Linked DNA regions of Homo sapiens: all the other regions are linked to region 1. Evidence: promoter capture Hi-C in human tissues and cell types (Jung and others, 2019). All regions are on one chromosome and are shown on one strand. The core of a region is centred on a gene start or on the middle of the fragment in contact, and the rest is flanking DNA. Distances in the headings are between cores, read along the strand shown. Region 1 holds the start of ATAD3A (ATPase family AAA domain containing 3A). Region 2 holds the start of MIB2 (MIB E3 ubiquitin protein ligase 2). Region 3 has its middle 9.4 kb from the start of SSU72-AS1.

Region 1 (2,528 bases), core at 16-2,515:
TTTTCTGTGCCGCCAAAGAAGTAGAACTCGAATATAAATTTTTCTCAGCTAGATAATTTACTTCTATAGAAGGGGACATCTCATAGATGGAGCAATGGCGAGCGCTTGGACAAGGGAGGGGAAGGGGTTCTTATTCCTGACGCGGGTAGCCCCTACTGCTGTGTGGTTCCCCTATTGGCTAGGGTTAGAATGCACAGTCTAAACTAGTGCCCATTGGCTATTTTAAAGGGAGCAGGAGTATGGGCCAGAGTGGCGGGGTGAGTGGTTTGGCGGGAAAAATGGTTATGGGACAGGTAACTAAAGGTGACTCAGGTCAAAGCAGGAGACCGGGATTAGTTAGGACGGAGCAGGTGACCAGGGCAACAGATGTCAACTACTGACTAGAACTGGTGGAAAAGGTTGTTTACTGAAACTGCGAGGAAGGTAGACTTTAAAATGCAGGACAAAGACTGAACATACTGATATACTGATTCTTTGAAGGGAAGTTTAGAACTCATTGTATCTAACATTATTCAGGCTTAAAACAGTTTCCAATCCAGTGGGAAAAGTCACTCCATATATTCCGTGAAGTCAACCAGTTCCATCAAGGAGAAAGTCAGGGCCGCTGGGAGCGCGTGGACCGTGGGCTCCGGGGCGGCGCCTGCCCGGGCACCCCGGCCCCGTCCACGCCCCGCAAGAGGAGCTCGCTGGCCCCGCCACGCGGGAAGGGGTCGCCCCGGGGTCTTGGGCGGGAGGGCCGTGCGGGCTGCGGAGACACCGAGGAGGGGAGGCGCCTCTCCTGAGCTCTTGGCGCAGCGACCCCAGGGCGCCGACTCATCGCGGAAGGGCTCGGCTTGCCCGGGCGCCGGTGCCGCCTCGGGTGAGGTTCCCGCGAGACTCTTCTCTGCGTCCTGGACTCACCGCAGGGCGCCCCGCCGCACGGATCGAGAACCTTGGGGCTCCCTGGAAACTTGCCACCCGCTGCCGCCAAGGCCGGAACTCCTCGGAGCCCCTAGCAACGGAGCCCCTAGCAACGGAGCCCACGCGGATGCGGCGCGGGGCTGACGCTGCCTTGGGTTCGCCTACGTCCCTCGGGAATTTTGTCCCGGCGTGGCTCCCGTAGCCAGATGCTTCGCCGCTCCCGCCCCGCTGGCTCCCAAAGCCTGTTCGGCAGTCGCGGCGCCGTCGCTATGGCGTCACTGTCCTCGGGGCCAATCCAAGGGCTGCGCGCGTGTCCCTTACGCGCTTCTATCGCCGGGAGGAAGGGGTGTGTGTGGCGCCTGCGCAGTGGCGGTGACCACCGGCTCGCGGCGCGTGGAGGCTGCTCCCAGCCGCGCGCGAGTCAGACTCGGGTGGGGGTCCCGGCGGCGGTAGCGGCGGCGGCGGTGCGAGCATGTCGTGGCTCTTCGGCATTAACAAGGGCCCCAAGGGTGAAGGCGCGGGGCCGCCGCCGCCTTTGCCGCCCGCGCAGCCCGGGGCCGAGGGCGGCGGGGACCGCGGGTTGGGAGACCGGCCGGCGCCCAAGGACAAATGGAGCAACTTCGACCCCACCGGCCTGGAGCGCGCCGCCAAGGCGGCGCGCGAGCTGGAGCACTCGCGTGAGTGCGGCGGGGCGGGGCGGCGCGGGCGGGCGGGCGGGACGGGCCGGGGAAGCGGGAGCCCTGGCCCTTGCCGCTCCTCGCCGCTGTCGGCAGCCACTTCCCGGGCGAGACTGCGCCCCCGGAGCACCCCCGGCCGGAGCCGTGTCGCGTGCCGGGAGGATCGGACTCTTTCCGTCACCCGTTTGCACCTCTGCAGCTGTCAGGAGCGGGTCAGGTGCGGAAAGCGGTGCGGAGGTGGCGCTCATAGGTTACAGGGGTCAGGGTCTGGGGCTGGCCGTGGTCTTCAGTTACCGCCGAGCGTGCGGGATCCTTCTGCGCTTGCCGCCTCCACGTGGCACAGGCCAAGGCGTGGCCAGATGGGTAGATGGGTTTGTTGGGTGGTTGCTAGCAGTTTCCACGTAACAAGGGAAGCGTATTTGAGAGTTACTTGATTCTAACGAGACTAGCAGATTTGCACTTCTTGTTGGAAGACGTTAGCATTTGCACGGCGAGGTCTGTGAAGCCACAGGCCAGGCCGTGCTGCTCAGCTTGAGTAAACCCCTGACCCAAGGCCCTCAGGGTGTGAGCACTCACCATGTTGTTCAGGCTGGTCTTGAATTCTGGCCTCAGGTGATTCGCCCACCTCGGCCTCCCAAAGCGCTGGGATGACAGGCGTGAGCCGCTGCTCATGGCCTTCCTCGGTAATTTTAACCATCAGGTTAGGATGGGAATCAAGGGCTGGACTTCAGGGCACCTCGGAGGACAGCGGATGTTGGTGACTGACTTTCTTGCTGCAGGCTTATTTGGAGGGTTCCTTTGTGTCCTAGTTCCTGGGGGTTTTCACCCGCTAACTTCACTTAGAGATTGAAACTTCTCCCACTTCCAGAAGCTGAATCGTAGTGATCAGCCTGCGGCCCCCTGCAGTGGTACAGGCCTGGTTGAGCAGCCTCAGGCCGCCTCCCCATAGTG
Region 2 (2,528 bases), core at 17-2,516, 100 kb after region 1:
ACGAAGGGGGAGCTCTCATGCAGGAATACCTGCAGCAGGCCTCCTCACAAGACGCTCCTGCACGTCCTGCACGTTTGCCTGTAACCGGACTTACTGCAGGGAAATTCCTCAGGACTGCAGTATTCTAGATAAGCAGCTTGCACAAGGACGTCGGCCTGGTAAGGCTCTCTCCAACAACAAGCTAACGCCCACTCCTGCAGCAAGCGCCCACAGCCAGTGGTTTTTGTTACAAAACAACTTTTGTGAGCTCATCTGTATTTTCCCCTTCGCCCGGCCCTCTCAGATAGGCCTATGATCTGTCATGGCACGAACAGCCTAGGCTGCAACCCCCTGCGATTCCCAGATTAACTCACTTGTCCTGGAGAGCCTGCCTCTGGGTTTCCTTTCAGGTTGACAGTTTGGGAGCTAACAGGACCACGTGAGGGGTGCAGCGGGGAAGATCAGCCAGGTTCTCAGGGACCTTCTCCGGAAGTACGCAATGTCTACAATTAAGAAATGAGAGGCCGGGCGCGGTGGCTCACGCCTATAATCCCAGCACGTTGGGAGCCCTAGGAGGGCAGATCACGAGGTCAGGAGTTCGAAATCAGCCTGGCCAAAATGGTGAAACCCCGTCTTGACTAAAAATGCAAAAATTAGCTGTGCGTGGTAGCGCATGCCTGTAGTCCCAGCTGCTCGGGAGGCTGAAGCAAGAGAATAGTTTAAGCCCTGGAGGCGGAGGTTGCAATGAGCCGAGATCGCGCCATTGCACTCCAGCCTGGGCGACAGGGCGAGGCTCCGTCTCCAAAAAAAAAAAAAGAAAGAAAGAAAGAAATGAGAAACTAGCAGTGCATTGTTCAGAAACGCGGAGACTTCTCTCAGGAGAAAGCGAGAAGCAAGCGTCCAACTCTGGGGTGCAGAACCCGGGGCGGGAGGACGGGCCCGGACTGCCGTTTCTCGCTGTGTCCAGGTCTGCGTGACTCAAAACCCCGGATAGGGCCCGCACTGGTGGAGTCGGAAAGAGGTGGCTGCGGCGCGGCAAGTGCCGCCAGTGCCAGCGAGCGCGACGTCGCTCCCAAGCCCCCGTCTCTATGGCAACCGAGTGCGTCTCTAGGACCGCCACTGCGCAGGCGCCCGGAGGCTAAGCCGCTCGGAACCTAGCTGCGCCACGCAGGGTAGGCGACGCAGACGCTCCCGCGTGACGCACTTCCGGTGCTTGCCCTGCCCATCCCCGTGGCGGGGGCGTGGCCATGGCGGGGGCGCTCCGGCGGGGGCGGGCCCTGGGCTCCCGCCCTTCGGGTCCCACAGTTTCCAGCCGCCGCTCTCCTCAGTGCCCGGTGGCCCAGGAGGGCCTGGGAGCCCGAAGCCGTCCCCGAGTCGCTCCTAGGTCACTGGCGCGATGCGGGCCGTCCTCTCGGCTGATGGTGCGTGCGGGCGCGGATCTCCTCCCCTGGTCCTCCGCACCGTCCCCGAGTCGTTCTCCGCTCTGGCAGAACGCGAGCGCCGTCCGGTTCCCGCTCCCGCTGGCCCAGCAGCCCCGGGCTGGACTCGGCGTAGGGTCCGCACGGGATGGGCTGGGGCTGCGCGCGCAGCGCCGCCGCGGGGCCTCCTGGGAGTTGTGGTCCGGCCACCCGCGCGGGACTCCAGCTCCCGGCAGGCCTCGCGCGGCCCGGGGCCAGCGGCGCTGGGGTCGGCGCTGGGGTCGTCGTCCGGGCCGGGTGGGCTGCGGCGCGCGGCAGGCGCTCTGGCCTGGCCTGGCCGCCGCTGAGCAGTCGGGGCCGGTGGGTGGCCTCGAACGCCGGGACAGACCGACAGACGGACTGGCCGGCGGTCCCGCGCCCCCGAGCGGAGCGGGCGGGACGGAAACGTCCGGGCAAGTTGGGGTCGGCAGGTACTGCGCGGCCCTGGCAAGGTCTGGCAGCGGACAGGGCCGGGCGGCCTCCGCGAGCCACGGGCACGAATGACAGGGGGCGGGGCGCGCTCCGGGTGGGGGTGCCCGCCGTGCCCGCCCCTGGCCCGCCCGTTCCCCTGCGCCGGCGCCCGTGCGCGTCCCGGAGCCTCCTGACGTCTGCGAGCCGCGGCCGCCAGACCCCGGGCGCACGCAATTACGGGCCCGGCGCTGGCGGCTCCTGCGCGCTCAGACCCCAGGGAGCCCATCCGGGCAGGCGGCGGCCCTGAGTGTCGCGGCCGTGGGCCCGAGTGGACCTGGAGCCGGCGGGCAGCCCCGGGGGCAGACAGGCGACCGAGCCGCGGGTCGAGGTGCTAACTGTGCATCTTGGCATCTCCCCTCGGCCACAGGGTTGGAAGCCCAGCGAGGCTAGAGGCCAGTCCCAAAGTTTCCAGGCATCAGGGCTGCAGCCCAGGAGCCTCAAGGCGGCCCGGCGGGCGACTGGACGGCCGGACAGGTGAGCTCTTGATCGTCCGCGGCCTGATAGTTTGCACTTGGCTCTCCCACTTTGGGGCTCCGTGGAAGCCACGTCAGAGAGGCTGTGTTTGTGTCTGAGCATGCATGCGAGTGGAGGGGAGTGGTGAGTAATCCCGCGTCTCCTCTC
Region 3 (2,528 bases), core at 21-2,520, 72 kb after region 1:
ACAGCTCCATGAGGGTCCGCAGGTGAGCCCAGTGCAGATTGCCAACCCACAGAATTGTGGACAAATACGTGACCTGTTTTTGCTGCCAAATTTTGGGATGGTCTGTTACACAGTGAAGGCTAGCTGATACGCAGTTCCTCATTTCTCCTCTGGTGATGAGATCCACTTTCATTTCAGGAGGCAGTGTGCCAGTCTCAGTAGATGGAACACAATCCACAATCGGTCTATTCAACCATGACAATTTTATTCCCTACTGTTGGGGAAGTGTCTCGAGTCAGACCCTCCCCACCAAGTGCAAAGAGAACGCATCTCAGCTATCCCTTCTGCCAGCCCAGCCTACGGGGGCCAGATGTATCTTCTGGGCTCTTAGAAGTGTCAGTCGGTGCCATGGGGACTGCTCCTACAAGTCTGGCGTGGATGCCCCCAGGTACACCCTGAGGTCCGAGAGGGTGGACTGCACAAGCTTGTCCAGGATGGCCCTTGCTGCAGCTACCGGTAGGCTGCGTGCCAATAACAGCCGCCAAAGGAGTAGAAGTAATCACCAACCTGGGTCCCTTTGATCCAGGACATCCGTGGGGCACACTGTCTGGGTCTTCCTAGGTCATGTCCACGAGGTTCTGCGTCTCGGCTGGGCCCAGCACAGATGGTGGCAGCTACGTGAGCAGCTCAGTGGCACGCCGTGCACCTGGGAATGCAGCCCGACTGGGCACTCCCGCCCTGCACACCGTTGCAGGGCCTGGGACCCGGGGCTGCCCCAGCCCACATCCACCCTGCCCGATCGATGCTCCTCCTGCACACAGCCCCGTTACCACTGCCACTGCCCCAAAGCATAAAAATTTTTTTTTTTTTTTTGAGATGGAGTTTTGCTCTTGTTGCCCAGGCTGGAGTGCAATGGCATGATCTCAGCTCACCACAACCTCTGTCTCCCGGGTTCAAGCAATTCTTCTGCTTCAGCCTCCCGAGTAGCTGGGATTACAGGCATGCGCCATTAATTTTGTATTTTTAGTAGAGATGGGGTTTCTCCATGTTGGTCAGGCTGGTCTCAGACTCCAGACCTCAGATGATCCGCCCGCCTCGGCCTCCCAAAGTGCTGGGATTACAGGCGTGAGCCACCGCGCCCGCCAATTAATTTTTTTTTTTTTTTTTTGAGACGGAGTCTCGCTGTGGCCCAGGCTGGAGTGCAGTGGCGCAATCTCAGCTTACTGCAAGCTCCATCTCCCAGGTTCACACCATTCTCCTGCCTCAGCCTCCCGAGTAACTGGGACTACAGGCACCCACCACCACACCCGGCTAATTTTTTGTATTTTTAGTAGAGACGGGATTTCACCGATTAGCCAGGATGGTCTCAGTCTCCTGACCTTGTGATCCACCCACCTCAGCCTCCCAAAGTGCCAGGATTACAGGCGTGAGCCACCGTGCCCGGCCAGTTTTGGGGTTTTTTTGTTTTTGTTTTTGTTTTTGAGACAGCGCCTTGCTGTGTCGACCAGGCTGGAGTGCAGTGGCATGATCTTGGCTCAGTGCAACCTCTGCGTCCCGGGTTCAAGCAATTTTCTTGCCTCAGCCTCCTGAGTAGTTGCAATTACAGGCGTGTGCCACCACGCCTGGCTAATTTTTTGTATTTTTAGTAGAGACGGGGTTTCACCATGTTGGCCAGGCTGGTCTCGAACTCCTGACCTCGTGATCCTCCCACTTTAGCCTCCCAAAGTGTTGGGATTACAGGCGTGAGCCACCGTGCCTGGCCACCCATCAGTTTTAAAATGTGCCTGAGTTAGAGCAGAACAGAAGCTGAGAAAAATTAAAAAGAAAGATAAATAAGTACAGTTTGCCCAAGTTGGGCCATAATATAGCCTGCTGGAGAACCAAAAAATCTGCTGTGACTTAATGTTTGAGAATCCCATTTCATTTCTTCTTATTTTCTGAAGAGCAAAGAAGCTTCCATAGATCCTATCAGGAATTGTCAAGCACATGGACCACTGTTTCAGATGGTGGCGACAGACCCAGTAACTTTCGTTGTTGTTTTGTTTTCTTTTGAAACAGAATCTCACTCTGCAGTCCAGGCTGGAGTGCAGCGGTGCAATCTTGGCTCACTGCAACCTCTGCCTTGTGAGTTCAAGCGATTCTCCTGCCTCAGCCTCTAGACTAGCTGGGATTACAGGTGCATGCCACCATGTCCAGCTAACTTTTTTTGTTTGTTTATTTGTTTGTTTGTTTGTTTTGAGACGGAGTCTTGCTCTATTGCCCAGGCTGGAGTGCAGTGGTGCAATCTCGGCTCACTGCAAGCTTCACCTCCCGGGTTCATGCCATTCTTCTGCCTCAGCCTCCCAAGTAGCTGGGACTACAAGTGCCCGCCACCACGCCTGGCTAATTTTTTTTTTGAGATGGAGTCTCGCTGTGTCGCCCAGGCTGGAGTGCAATGGCGCAATCTCAGCTCACTGCAAGCTCTGCCTCCCAGGTTCACGCCATTCTCCTGCCTCAGCCTCCCAAATAGCTGGGACTACAGGCACCCGCCACCACGCCCGGCTAATTTT

Evidence for each region. The method cuts DNA at HindIII sites, captures the fragments that hold promoters and counts their contacts. A contact is called where the count stands out against the background at its distance.
Region 2: a contact is called between the fragment with the promoter of MIB2 here and the fragment with the promoter of ATAD3A in region 1, in 1 of the 25 tissues and cell types used here (mesendoderm cells).
Region 3: a contact is called between a fragment that was not itself captured here and the fragment with the promoter of ATAD3A in region 1, in 11 of the 25 tissues and cell types used here (IMR-90 fibroblasts, adrenal gland, aorta and 8 more).

Annotation. Positions count from the first base shown.
Region 1 is chr1:1,510,897-1,513,424 of GRCh38, forward strand. It overlaps ATAD3A (ATPase family AAA domain containing 3A), which reads left to right and starts at 1,266. Exons shown (of 16, transcript NM_001170535.3): 1 at 1,266-1,577. The coding sequence starts at 1,373. RefSeq lists silencers at 574-773, 1,224-1,383 and an enhancer at 1,014-1,073. The HindIII fragment of the contact is 15,639 bases long and covers 1-2,528 here.
Region 2 is chr1:1,614,234-1,616,761 of GRCh38, forward strand. It overlaps MIB2 (MIB E3 ubiquitin protein ligase 2), which reads left to right and starts at 1,267. Exons shown (of 20, transcript NM_001170687.4): 1 at 1,267-1,400; 2 at 2,275-2,381. RefSeq lists an enhancer at 762-931 and silencers at 1,032-2,081, 2,112-2,201. The HindIII fragment of the contact is 4,042 bases long and covers 1-2,528 here.
Region 3 is chr1:1,583,107-1,585,634 of GRCh38, forward strand. No RefSeq gene overlaps it. Among named protein-coding and RNA genes, the nearest start is that of SSU72-AS1, 9.4 kb to the left of the region's middle. The HindIII fragment of the contact is 3,924 bases long and covers 1-2,528 here.